Regions from separate parts of the Homo sapiens genome. Here region 2 is linked to region 1. Evidence: promoter capture Hi-C in 16 types of primary human blood cells and fetal thymus (Javierre and others, 2016). All regions are on one chromosome and are shown on one strand. Each heading gives the region's core, a stretch centred on a gene start or on the middle of the fragment in contact. The rest is flanking DNA. Distances are from core to core; before and after follow the strand shown.

What was found. Contacts are between HindIII fragments. The CHiCAGO score rates a contact against its expected background, and 5 or more counts as called.
Region 2: a fragment that was not itself captured here is called in contact with the fragment with the promoter of POLI in region 1 in 4 of 17 cell types (M2 macrophages, erythroblasts, monocytes and 1 more); the score reaches 14.5 in M2 macrophages.

What each region holds. Positions count from the first base shown.
Region 1 is chr18:54,266,271-54,273,564 of GRCh38, reverse strand. It overlaps POLI (DNA polymerase iota), which reads right to left and starts at 4,048. Exons shown (of 10, transcript NM_007195.3): 1 at 3,904-4,048; 2 at 2,080-2,205. The coding sequence starts at 4,018. LOC124904307 (a long non-coding RNA gene) reads left to right here and starts at 3,660. Exons shown (of 2, transcript XR_007066379.1): 1 at 3,660-3,739. RefSeq lists enhancers at 3,567-3,616, 4,147-4,276, 4,537-4,686 and a silencer at 3,687-3,936. The HindIII fragment of the contact is 5,901 bases long and covers 1,014-6,914 here.
Region 2 is chr18:54,951,448-54,958,741 of GRCh38, reverse strand. The region is part of intron 1 of CCDC68 (coiled-coil domain containing 68); the gene reads left to right. It also overlaps the pseudogene MAP1LC3P. Among named protein-coding and RNA genes, the nearest start is that of CCDC68, 4.4 kb to the left of the region's middle. The HindIII fragment of the contact is 1,689 bases long and covers 4,945-6,633 here.

The sequences.
Region 1 (7,294 bases), core at 2,799-5,298:
GGCAATCTATGTATTACATTTCTAAAATTTAAAAATGAACCTAAATCAATATATTCTATGGAATCTTCAGTGATAAGATACAAATCAAATCTCTCTAGGATTTTTTTCCAGACAATATAAAAGCAGATTAATTTATACTGCCATATAATAGGGCATGTTCTACCAAAAAAAAAAAAAACGGATGAAAATAATTGAGTACAACTAAATACTGGTTGCTGCTAGAAAAACTCAACTTCTCTTCTCCGTAACTTGCTAATATAAAGCAATATAAAATATAATATGTATATAAAATATATAAAACAAGTGCTGGGCTACAGCAATTTTTAGGGATCTAACAGTTATGTACTACTTATTGAACTGTTCTATCAAAAATGATTAAATTATGATCATTTATTTACAGACTGCATAAAAAATTCTAGTTTATTGGTGACTCAAGATTGCTAAAAATTATTTGCTCTTTTTTTATACAAGTTGACTACTTGCTTACCACTGTAAGAGTAATGTTCACCTAAAATATGTAAAATACAAACATGTAGAAAAAAAAGGTTATGTCCACTTCTCTATTAGACATTGTTTCTAAAATTTTGATATCATAAACAACATTATTTTTATATAAAGTTTTTTCATATATCAGGTAATGCCCAAAAATATAATCATGGAACCAAAGGTAATAATAATTTGAGATTCCTCAGTGAACTACATAAAAAATCAGATTGCTAGATTTCTTAACTAAAAAAAGGAGTCCTTTAATAGAGCATTACATTATATGGCCTCATCACTGCATGTCACTACTGGTCGGGCACGGTGGCTCACGTCTGTAGTCCCCGCACTTTGGGAGGCCAAGGCAGGTGGATCGCCTGAATTCAAGCATACGAGACCACCCAGGGCAACATGGTGAAACCGTCTCTACTAAAAATACAAAAAAATTAACCGAGTATGGTGGCGCACACCTCTAGTCCCAGCTACTTGGAAGGCTGAGGCAGGAGAATCACCTGAGCCCCAGAGGCAAAGCTTGCAGTAAGCCAAGATCGCACCACTGCACTGCAGCTTGGGCTACAGAGTGAGACCCCTTCTCAACAACAACAACAAAAACAAAATGAAAGACTACTTTCGTTTTCCCCCAAAAACATGGAGCATTCATATCCCTCACTTCCCAATAATCATTCATTCGTACTTAATTACAGTTTTTTTATTAAGCATTATCTACAGAACATCTTATAACACAGTGCTACTACTCAGAAATGCCTTCAGGAGAAAAAACTTAGGTCCCCTGATTCTAACTCCTTGGCACCCTTAGAAAAGTTTTAAGATCCTAGACTCACCTTGGCGTAGCAAAAACTAGTCATCCCTTTGTTCTTCAGTAAATCAGCTAGGCTGGATTGGGATTTATTAAGCCAAAGTGGGCACAAGAGGGTAGCAGCAAGTGAACCAAAAATGTTCTTTATGCTTACACTAAAAGAGGAATCTTTCCTGCATGCATGAAAGAAAATCTCTTTATCTTTCTCAATTTAAAATATGAATAATAAAAATGATAAAACAAGCTAGCATATCAACAAATATCCAATATAAAATTTATTTTGGCTTTTATTTAAAAAGATGCTTATGTTTTTACGGCAAGTTTGCTGTCTTAATAATACTTAGGTTTATGTTCAAAATCCAACTAGTTAGTTAGATGTTACACAATTTAAGAGATAATTTCAGAAAGGGGAGGACAGACGAACACTTCCACTAAAATGTAATAAGAGGCTGTTTTTGAGAACAAAGCCTGTAAAATTTCAAATAGTGAGAAAAAGAAATCTGACCAGCAAACTAAGCTACTAACCAGCACAGAAAAGTAACATTTATTCTGCTTTCTCTTCATTTGTTCTGCCGACTACACTATTCTCAGATTCACCACTTATTAAATGAGGCTTGTAAAATTTACACTTGGTAGTGAAGCAAAAATGACCAGCTATAAAGCACTGTAAGAACTGCTTCCAAAATCTTTCTTAATAAGGTTAATAAATCAGTATATAATGAGCATGATGAGTTGCTAATCTAATCATTATGCAATTAAAAATATTATAAATCTACAGTTACCTAAAGGTTTGTCTTTTAGCTCTGGATTTGAGATCATTTCTACTTGTGCATAAAAGCAATCCAGATCCACATGTACTATGACTCTGGATGAAGCATTTGGTGTGGGCAACACTTGATCATGAACTCCTGCACAATATGCAAAGAAATAAAAAGAAATTCAGGCTGCTTATTATCTCTGAGCAACTGACAGTTCCTTAAAACATGGTACCTGTGAAGGAAGAATGCAGAGTGACGTGTTTTCTCCTGGATTATGTGTGAAAGCATCGAAAAATTACAAAGACATGAAACTCCACTTAGGGTAGGGTCTTCAGTCCTCTTAATTACTGTTTGTGCACTGCGTTTTTCTCAGGATAGTAATAAGTTTGAAGGGAAAAAATGTGATAAATAATGGATGATGAAAGAGCTAATACTATCACCTGGAAGTTTATAGTAGCTCTTAGTGTAAACCAGAAGGGGCAGAAAAGTTGAAATGACGTTGATTTTCACACAGCTTGAAAATTATTCTAAGCAGCATGCCCTTACATTTAAAACAAACAAACCAACAAAAACTGAAATACAAAATGGCAAAAGACAACCAGTGGGTACAAGTGTGGGCTATTTTTAGCTCCCATGGCAGCAGGATTATCTGGTTTAATGCTAAATCGCCAGTGCCTAAAACAGTGTCTAGGACATAACAGACCACCAATAAATATTCACTAAATTGAAAGACTGAATAGTTCTTTGATTTTAAAAAGTTGTTAGGTCATTATTTGTCGGGGAGGGAATGACAGAGGCGACTCCTTCTCTCAACACTGGCTAAAAACAAGACAGGCAAAATACAATACAATATTCTGGTTGGGATCCTGGAACAGAAAATGAACGTTAGCAGAAAAACTGGTAGAATATTAATAAAGCGTGTAGTTCAATTAATAGTATTATACCAATGTTAATTTCCTAGTTTTGACAAATGTACTGAGTTTATGTTAACACTAGGGGGATCTAGCTCTGCAACTTTCAGGTAAACCTAAAGTTCCAAAATTTAAAAGGCCAGGCACGATGGCTAACTACTGTAATCCCAATACTTTTCGAAGCTGAGGTGGAAGGATCGCTTGTGGCTGGAGTTTGAGACCAGCCTGGACAACACAGCTACACCTGATCTAAAAAAATCTGAAAATCAGCCAGGTGTGGTGGCACGTGCCTGCTGTCCCAGCTACTCGGGACGGAGAGGCTGGGGCGGAGGATCACTTGAGCCCAGGGGTTCGAGGCTGCAGGGAGACCTTGTCTCTAAATTAATGAATGAAACAAAACCAGCAGGAAATGAGAACCGGTGCCTTTACATCCAGGCCCTGAGGTGGGCGGTACAAGGTAAAGACCAGAGCTGGAAGTGGGTCACCGGAGACGTGACCACAGCGGACCTGACTCCGCCTAGGTTCTGAGCCATCCCTTCCTGCCAGGACTGAGATCCGGGTCCCACCTTCTGCCAAATGAGCGACAAGGTCCTCAACTTCTCCAAAGTTAAAAGGCCCAGAAGCCTCTGCAGTTTTCGTCGGGCTGGCTGAGGGATTCCCGCCCCACCTCGCCCCTCACAGAGGAAAGGACGGCGCAGATAAACCCTCGACACGTATTTGTAGTGTGGACGCGCCCCACCCTACTCCTGCTGGGTGAAGCCATTCCTCTAGAGGTACCCGCCGCGTAACACAAGGCAGAGGGAGGCAGCCCTCTCTTAGAGGAGCCGAGTGGGGCGGGGACGGTCGCGCCCCAGTGGCCGCCGCCCCGAGCGTCCGCCTGCCCCACCCTTCTCATTTACACCCAAGGAGGCCGCTGGCTCCTCTGGCTGCGGCGCACCCTGCGAGCTGGCTGCCGCCCCCACGTCCGCCAGTTCCATGGCCCAGGCCTCGGCGTCTTCCTCGTCGTCGTCGCCGCCGCCTTCCTCCTCCGGCTCCACCCCCAGCTTCTCCATCCCGCCGCTGCCAACCGCAGCGCTACTTCCGGCCGCTTCCGCCTGGTCTCCAGGGAAACCGGGGGACTACAGTCTCCAGTCGCTCTGTGCCTCTCGCCTGCGCAGTCGTGGCCGACCAGCCTGTTGCCCAGAGTGACACGCATGCCAAGGAATCGTGGAGGCCCACGTGCGGGAGTTTTTTCCCGCCGGGTGGAGGCCGGAAGCGGAGAGATTGAAAGCACAAATGGCTATTTTTTTTTTTTTTGAGACGGAGTTTCGTTCTTGTTGCTCAGGCTGGAGTGGGCAACAGTGACGCAATACCGGCTCACTGCAACCTCTGCCTCCCGGATTCAAGCGATTCTCCTGCCTCAGCCTCCCAAGTAGCTGGGATTAACAGGCATGCGCCATCACGCCCAGCTAATTTTTTTGTATTTAGTAGAGACGAGGTTTCACCATGTTGGTCAGGCTGGTTTCGAACTCCTGTCCTCAGGTGATCCACCCTCCTAGGCCTCCCAAAGTGTTGAGATCACAGGCATGAGCCACTGCGCCTGGCCTTTTTTTTTTTTTCTTGAAGGCTTTGGAGTTAGGCCCACATCACAAATTTTAGCGTTTTGTCTTTGTTCCATTCGGCTGTTAGCAAACTTGCAAATCCCTAGACCTGAGTGATTAATGTGATGGGGTGGGAAGGAGTGTAACTGATAGTAAAGACACAGGTGGCCTTGTAAACTCATATGATTAGCAACTATGTTAAGGTTTGCTGTGTTTTGTTTGTTGTTGTTTTATTTAAAGACACTGTGACGAATTCAACCACAGAATTTTTAACATCAAAACTGAATAGGATTTGATACATGAGTGTTGTAGTCAGACAAAATCTCCAATCCAGACCCTCCATCATGCTGTGTGACTTTGGGCAGGTTACATAACTGCTGTGAGCCTCAGTTGCTCTACTCTTAAAAAAAAAAAAAAGTATTGAGATTGAATGAATGGATAAAAGCTACCATATACTGTAATATCCTAATGTATATAAAACATGTGGCACATAGGAAGTGCTCAGTAAATGTCTATTCTCCTTGCCTTCTATTAGGATACCATGTGTGCATGTGTGTGTTGGTGTGTGTATGTGTATGTTTTACAATAGAGGAAATTTGGAAATTCCTCCATGCCTGTATGTATGTATATACACTATATCTGTATAAATACCCAAATTAACACATATGTTTGGTTTTTTATATGATTCTACTTCTTATCAAATAAAATATTAGAACCTTGAGAAACCCTTTAAAGCAGCCATTCCCAACCTTTTTGGCACCAGGGGCTGGTTTCATGGAAGACAATTTTTCCACAGACAGAAGGGAGGGGGATGGTTTTGGGATGATCCAAGTGCGTTACATTTGTTGTGCACTTTATTTCTATTATTATTACATTTTAATAGATAATGAGGTAGAATCAGTGGGAGCCCTGAGCGTGTTTTCCTGCAACTAGACTGTCCCATCTGGGGTGATGGGAGATAGTGATAGATCATCAGGCATTAGATTCTCATAAGAAGCATGCAACCTAGATCCCTCGCATGCGAGTTCACAGTAGCGTTCAGGCTCCTGTGAGAATCTAATGCCGCTGCTGATCTGACAAGAAGCAGTGCTCAGGCAGTCATGCCAGTAGTGGAGAGTGGCTGTGAATACAGATGAAGCTGCACTCCCGGGCCCGCTACTCACCTCCTGCTATGCGGCATGGTTCTTAACAGGCCAGGGACTGGTTCTGGTCCATGGCCTGGGGACTGGGGACCCCTGCTTTAAAGGATATGTTGATGCATCCATGAAGAAAAGGGAATAACAAGCAGAGCTGGGTCTCAGTGGTTTGGAAACAAAATCTTCCTCTTTGCATATTTAATTCTTAGATGTCTGGACCAGTTCTTTCAAAGTCTGCTATCTAGGTTATAAATTACCTGTTCAGAGAGCTAGGCTGCTATCTTTGTGAAAGCTGTTTGATAAGTCTAGATAGTTGTTTGGTGGTTTTTCATTTTATTTAGTTATTTATTTATTTATTTTGAGACAGAGTCTCAGTCTGTCTCCCAGGTTGGAGTGCAGTGGTGCGATCTGGGCTCACTGCAACCTCTGCCTCCTGGGTTCAAACAATTCTCCTGCCTCAGCCACCTGAGTAGCTGTGATTACAGGCGTGTGCCACCATACCCAGCTAATTTTTGTATTTTCAGTAGAGACAGGGTTTCACCATGTTGGCCAGGCTGGTTTCCAACTCCTGACCTCAAGTGATCCGCCCGCCTTGGCCTCCCAAAGTGTTAGGACTACAGGCATGAGCCACCGCGACCCAGCCTACATAGAGAGCTTTTGAATTGAGTGTCTCTTTGTCCACTAAGTGCTTCTTGGACAACATTCAGTGGTCTGATTACTAATAGACAACCAAAGTTTGTTTTTCTTTTCATTCTTCCAGATAGAAAATGATATAAACACTAAAATACTATGGCAGATGAAAACGGTCTCTCTAGAAGAGCCCTAGGCTCACTAACATTCAACATGTTGCTTAAGTGAGACAGTGTTAAAAAACAATGCACGTAATCAAGCCCTCTTTAGTTAGTTGCATTTATTTCCCCATCCGTTGTTTAATTTGAAGAGTGGCTTTTAATTTCGTGAAAGGATAGAAAAGTAGACCCTTGGAAATCCTAGGGGAGCAAGCAGGGCTGGCTTGATGAGTATGTGACGTAGGCAGTCACATAGGGCTCAACACTTGATTTCATATTCTGCTCTTGTCTTGAAATTCTTAATTTTTTAACAAGGAAGCCCCATATTTTCATTTTGCCCTGGACCCCAGAAAGTATTTAGCAAGTGCTGGAAATAAAGAAGAGAAGCAGCACTAAAAAGGACACTCATAAAACACCTGTATATCAAGCACAGGGCTAAAAGCTTGAAACAGGTCATTTCATTCAATATAATAGCCCTAGAGGGTAGATGTCAGCATCCTCATTTTACCAAAGATGAAATAGCCTAGGAGAGATTAACATGCTTGCTCAAGGCTATGAATCTAGTAATGGCAGATCCACTTTTCAGAATTTTCCACAGTGAAGAATTCATTAATAATGTTTTCTCCATATAGGAAATCAATTAGCTCTGACCATTTTCCTCACTGCTTCAAACACCAGACGGCTGGTAGTGGGGAGAATAAACATCCCTCAAAGGTATTAAGAGGCACGAAAATAAAATTTATATAAGCTAACGTGTCTCATTGTTTTGGAATGTTTTAGGAAAAAAGGATTTTGGGGTTTGATTCTAAAAATCCCTACTCCCA
Region 2 (7,294 bases), core at 4,540-7,039, 680 kb before region 1:
GACAAAGGAACACTCTTATCTTACTGAAGGTTAGTACGGGACCGTGCAAGTGTAGTTTTTAGATTGGATGATAACATAGCTGTGAATTTTCAGCCTTTTTGGAAGTGAAGACAAAATTGAATATAAGGATCAGAACAAGCAACAAGCCCTGAACATAACTGAAGGTGTACCTGCTCCCCATTATATTCTGATTGTTTTATTTTAGGAATCAAAACCTCTTTTACTTTCTTGGTGTATATAGTTCGGATGAAGTGTCAGAATACAAAAAGGAATTATTCTGTGTTTGTGATAGGGAGGAGATAATCTGTTCTTTTGATTTTACCTAATGCCATTAAATATTCAGAGCTACTGAAGTCTGGTTTTCCTGATATGTGAGCTGGGCAGGAGTGTCAGGTACCCTGGCAGACACAATTGGTGCTGTTGTTATGCTTTTCCCCCGCTGCCCACTCTCTTCCCCACCCCACTCCCAATTTGAGAGGGAAGGCCCCTGACACAGAGGAATTTCTGCCCAAGGCAGGGAGTATCCCCGTGTGGTTCCTCAAATGTTTGCAGAAAGAATGAAAACAACTACACTTCTTGGGACCCAGGCCAACGTCATAAGGCCGACGTCATAAGAAGGTTCTTTCCTCTTGTTATTTACAAAATAAATTGATCCCTTGTCCTAACTAGAAAGAGACTTTTGAAATTAATACTGTTGCTATTTTGTGAATTACTGATAGGCATGTTATTTGTTAGCTTATTTGTTTACAGTATGCTCAACATTGAAGGTGAGTTGTAATCCAAATTTTGGCCAAAGCTAAAAAATGTAAGCTAGATTTAGACAAACCTGAAAAATGAGGTGTTTATTTGCTTGGAATAATGACTGAAAGGGGAAATAACTGAAGATTTTGATGGGAATGTAAAAGTCTTTTAAAATAGTAGTTTCTCATCTTTAGAACTGAGATATTTACATCAAAATTATATGGCTATTTATTGATTGAAAACATTTCATAATGGCAAAATTTTACCATGAATTTACTAACACGTTTAAATGAATGTCATTTACTAAGCACAAAAACAGCCATTTATATAGGTTTGGAAAATGAGAGAGAGAGAGAGAGAGAGAGAGAGAGAGTGTGTGTGTGTGTGTGTACATTGTTTTAGAAACTATTTGGTACATCTGTAAATTTGTGGGCCTATTCATGTATTCATTGAAACAATATTTATTGAGGACACTGTGTTCTGTGTGGGAGAACCAGATGGGAGGGGAAGTAGGGTCTGGGCCAAACACAGCCCTGTGTAAATCAGACACATTTCTATCCTCCTGGAATTTACTACATTGGAGTCCTCCAGGCCACCCCAAGTCAAGGCCATAGATTTACAGACCACATAAATGATCCATTCAATTTCGACAGTGACTAAAACTAGATTAGTTTCAAATCACATATTTCCTTTCACTGATTTAAAAAGTCAAGTCTAAAAATGATAGAGGAGCTTGCATGTTATTCTGCTCAGTGGTTTTCTCTTTTGTTTAGGTTGGGGAAGAACTTAGGAATCATGTGTTCCAGGCTTAATGTTATGAAATATTAACTTAAAATAGCTAAGTATCAATTTCATGCAAATTAAATAAAAACTAAACTTGTAGTATGGATGACAATAATCTAGAGACAAAAATTAATGAACAAAAAATTTAAAACTGAAAAACATCTATCCATTAAATTATATTTTTTCCTATAAATTAGAAAAATAAGACTACAGTTACATTCACCCCACCCCCAGAGGAAAACAGCATCTTTATTCAAGTTATTCTTACTTTTCCTTCTGTATTTTTTTTTAAAAAAGCTTTATTGGAGGTATAATTTACATACCATAAAATACATCCAAGTGTATAATTCAATGATTTTTGGTAAATTTACTGAATGGTGCAACCATTAGCACAATCCAATTTTAGATCACTTCATCATTCCCCAAATATCCCTGGGGCCTGTTTGCAATCACTCACCGTTCTTACCCCAGCCCCAGCAACCCCTAATCTATTTTGTCTGTTTAGATCTGCCTTTTCTGGACATTTCATACAGATGGAATCGTACAATATATAGTCTTTAGCATCTGGCTTTTTTCAGTTAGAATAGCTGTTGAGGTTTATTCAGGTTGTCACATGTAGCTGTAGTTGGTTCCTTTTTATTGCTTAACTAGGATTTATTCCATGCCATGGCTATGCCGCATTTTGTTCACCATTTGGTAGACCTTTCTGCAAATACTTTTGCATGGTAAAACAGATACATTGGTGCAGCTTCTATGGTAGCATAATGTGAGAATAACTGATATGAGCCAACCTCTTATTTGGTGCTTTGACTCTCTTCTATGATAATTTTAAATATGAATGCCAAGAGTTAAACATCCAGGTTCCTATTAAGCAGTGGTGTTTTCTGTGTGTAACTCTCCAACAAACCAATGTTAAGAACTTCTTACCTTGGCTGGGCACAGTGGCTCACACCTATAATCCCAGCATTTTGGGAGGCTGAGCTGGGCAGATCACGAGGTCAGGAATTCGAGACCAGCCTGACCAACATGGTGAAACCCCATCTCTACTAAAAATACAAAAATCACCTGGGCGTGGTGGCATGCGCCTGTAATTCCAGCTACTCGGGAGGCTGAGGCAGGAGAATCGCTTGAACCAGGGAGGCAGAGGTTGCAGTGAGCCAAGATTGCACCATTGCACTCCAGCCTGGGCAACAGAGCAAGACTCGTCTGAACTTCTAATTTTCCCCAGCAATTTGGGAGGCTGAGGCAGGTGGATCACCTGAGGTCAGGAGTTGGAGACCAGCCTGGCCAACATGGTAAAACCCCTTCTCTACTAAAAATGATTTTTTAAAAATTAGCTGTGTGTGGTGGCATGCGCCTGTAATCCCAGCTCCTGGGGAGGCTGAGGTAGGAGAATTGCTTGAACCTGGGAGGTGGAGGTTGCAGTGAGCTGAGATGTCACCACTGCACTCCAGCCTGGGCAACAGAGCGAGACTCTGCCTCAAACAAACAAACAAACAAACAAACAAAAAAGAACTTCTTAACTTTGCAAGAACATTGACTTTTGGTATACCTCTGTTAGGAATCAGGAAACTGGAATAGCAGTTCCCAGCCAGAATTGTTTTCTTATATATCTCCACTGACCTTGCTTTGTGCTAACTATTATGGCAAATGCATTTTGAGTGGTGGGGGCGGGTCATGCTTCACAACTTATGCTTAAATATCCTCTTAGGAAGATTTCTCTAGTAGAACAGAAATCCTTTTATAAAAATCTAGCCAGTTCTGTGAGCCTAAAAAGAAGACAGTGTCTCTCTGAGTGCCCTTAAGTTACTACTCAAATTGCAAATTCCTTTTGGGGGAAAAAAAAGAGCATCAAAATAACTTGAGGTCTGTTTGTGTGTGTGTGTGTTTTTCAAGACGGGGTTGTATTCTGTCACTGACGCTGGAGTGCAGTGTCAGGATCCTAGCTCACTGAAGCCTCAAACTCCTGGGCTCAAGTGATCCTCCTGCCTCACTCAGCCTCCTGTATGGCTGGGACTACAGGAATGTGGCACCATGCCTAGCTAATTAAATTTTTTTTTTCATAGATGGGGCATCACTGTGTTACCCAGACTGGCCTCCAATTCCCAGCCTTAAGCAATCCTTCCACCTTGGCCTCCCAAAGTGCTGGGATTATAGATGTGAACCACTGTGGCCAACTTTTGAAGTCTATTTTATTGGCAATTTAGAATGCAAACTATTTTTTTTAACATCTACAATTTGAAAAGAAGATAATGTAGGTTAAATAATATAGTTTTCCAAAGCTGAATGTCTTCATTTGCAACTCATTTTTTTCTGCTTGAAATGTCAAACAACTTCCTAAAACTCCTAGATGAGAATACTACTACTGTTTTGATGATCTGTTTGTGATTGGATGGAGTAATCAATCTTGTTTGGTAATACACCTTTGTTTCCTTGGTAAGGATTTTTAAAATTCTAAAACAAATGCATTTTTTTTCTAGCCTTATACTCACGATTTTATAGCAAGTATCTCCTAAGAGGTATTTACCATCTACAGGAATCCACCTTCATCATTCTCACTTTCATATACTCCAGGGATCAGGATCAGGGCAGAGACATTCACCAAGCTATGTTGGTTTATCAAGAGAAAGAAGGCTTGATTAGTATTGAGCTGTAAGCACCTGCTATTTATTTTGATTAGGTCACTTACATTGTTGTGATCTGATACAAGGAACTTAGTTTTACCCAAAGTGGGAAGCTGCCTCTGACTCTTCTATCTTTCTATAAACACCTGGATTTTGGTAGGATGCTGCTCTTGGATAAGTCAAACGTCTTCATGGTGTGGGAGGGTGGGCGATGGTGTTGATAAAAAGTAGGGTCATGGCCCGGCATGGTGGCTCACACCTGTAATCCCAGCACTTTGGGAAGCTGAGGCGGGTGGATCGCCTGAGGTCAGGAGTTTGAGACCAGCCATAGGCAACATGGTAAAACCCCATCTCTACTAAAAATACAAAAATTAGCCGAGTGTGGTGACACATGCCTGTAGTCCCAGCTACTCGGGAGGCTGAGGCAGGAGAATTGCTTGAACCTGGGATGTGGAGGTTGCGGTGAGCTGAGATTGAGCCACTGCACTCCACCCTGGGTGACAGAGTGAGACTATGTCTGAAACAAAAAAAAAAAAAGAAAGAAAGAAAGAAAGGAAGGAGGGAAGGGAAGGGAAGGCGAGGGGAGGGGAGGGGAAGGGAGGGGAGGGGAGGGGAGGGGAGGGTCCTGGCTGTTTCAGGCCCTGAATAAGTAGATATTTTCATCATCGATCCAACAGTGTATGTGCAGATGGACAAATATGAAGAATGAAAACATATTGTGCATCTAGAAAGCTATTAGAAAAGGAATGGGTAGATGAGAAAAGAAGTTCTAGGTTCACAAATTAGATTTAAAGCTTGTTGGAAATATTCTTATATTTCTTATGTATTATTGTATATTTCCTTCTACTTTATCACCTTTAATAAACAGTGCTTATGATTAAGTTTTTAAAAATGTTTAAAAGGCTTTCCTTGTTTCTGTCATACTGAATGCTAAGTTTAATTGACTAGTCATGTAGCGTGAGCTAGAATCAGCAGCCCAGTTGCCTGTTGTTTTTAACAACCCTGATTCCATTGCTCTCTATCTATGTATCTCTCTCTCTCTATATATATATATGTGTGTGTGTGTGTGTGTGTGTGTGTGTATGTATATATATAATCATTTACACTCTTTTGGGGGTCAAGAATTTGAATGAAGAAAAACAAATCCAATTAATTTTGGCTTCCAGTTACTTCTGATAAAATCAGTGAAGGTTCTTGGATTTTGAAATCTCAGTTGTGCATTGCTTTTTTTAGATCCTGCCAGGTTACTATTTTTTAAATAACATGTACAAATTCATCTTTTTCAGTATAGACTATTGTAAGTTTTTGGAAATTGTTATAGTCATAGAACCATGATCACTAACAAGATATATTCCCCCACTCCAAAGTCCTATGTGTTCCTTTTGTAGTTAACCTGTCCCCCACTGCCAGTCCCAAGTAACCACTATCCCTTTTGATTCCTACAGTTTTTACTTTTCTAGAATGTCAAATGGAACCATAGAATATGTAGCTCCTTGAATTTGGCTGTTTCAGTTAGCATGATGCATTTGACACTTATCTATGTTGTTGGGTGTATCCGTAATACATTCCTTTTTTTTTTTTGAAACAGAGTCTCACTCTGTCACCCAGGCTGGAGTGCAGTGGCACAATTTCAGCTCATTGCAACCTCTGCCTCCCAGGTTCAAGCGATTCTTGTGCCTCAGCCTCCTGAGTAGCTGTGATTACGCACGTGCACCGCCACAACTGGCTAATTTTTGTATTTTTAGTAGAGATGGGGTTTCGCCATGTTGGCCAGTCTGCTCTCGATCTCCTGACCTCAGGTGATCAGCTCGCCTCGGCCTCCCAAAGTGCTGGGATTACAGGTGTGAGCCACCATGCCTGGTCCATTCCTTCTTAATGAGGAGTTGTATTCACCTGTTGGTGAACATTTGACTTGTTTGCAGTGTTTGGCAATTATGAACATTTGTGTGCAGGTTTTATGGAATATAACTTTTCATTTCACTTGGATAAATACCAAGGCATGGGGTTTCTGGGTTGTATACTATGTATTTAACTGTATAGGAAACTGCCAAGCTGTTGTCCGCAGCAGCTCCACATTTTCCATTCCCATCAGCAACAGACAGGAGTTCCAACTGTTCCACATCCTCACCAGAACTGGTATGGTTTCTCTTTTTCCCCTTGCTGGATAATTTTTTTAAATGACATAAATTATGTTCAAGCTAAAATAATCCAGGACAAGCTCAGAAAACTGTAGGTATTTTATAAATTCCTGGGCTCTTCACTCCTAAAATATTTTATAGAGCCACAAATGACATTTTCTAAAAGGGCATCATGTAAATGTTGCAAGTGACTGTGACATATGTCATTGACCTCAGCTTCCTTTTATATTTTATTGACTGGCAAGTGTTACTCAGCTTTTGGGTTGACTTGTTAATAGAGAAGTTCAAATCAGGAGGAATAATTGGCTGATGGGTTAAGGAAAGAATAGTGAGGGGAAAACTAAGCTTGGGAATTGACACTTTCAAATCATGTCCTACAAGCAAATGTCCACAATAAGTTGTGAGTATAAACATTATGATTTAATATTAATTTAATGTGCATGAAGTCAGATGCTCCATTAAGCACTTTTCATGCATTATCTCATTTAATCCTCACATAGCTCTGAGAAGGTTGGCATTCTCATCTGAATTTTTCTGTTGAGGAACTGAGGCTTAGGGAGTTTAAATGATTTTCCAAGACCTCCCAGCTGGTGATGAAGTGGAACAGAGTCTTGTAGGCAGAACAACTGAGTCCAAATCCCTTGTTTTTAAGCCATGCAGCCAAACTGCCTTTGTTCATGGAATAAATCTACTGGGACAACAACATCTGTTCAGGCTCCTGAAGGACACACCTGGGACCTCCCATCAGGAGTTCTGTGACTGTTACTTGGTGACCTACTTTGGAAAACTTTGATTCTTAAGCTATCTTGGGCCCAAGAAGTTGAGGCTTAGAAACTCCTTCAGAATGTAGCAGAGGCAAAGTGGTAAGTTAGAAGGAGCTAGTAGACTCATGAGAAAGAGCCAGACAACTCATGGTTTGGGATCCAATGGCCACCAACTAGTTATCTTTGTTTATCTTGTTGAGCCTTGTTTCTTCATCTGCAAAATGGGAATAATAATATCAACCTC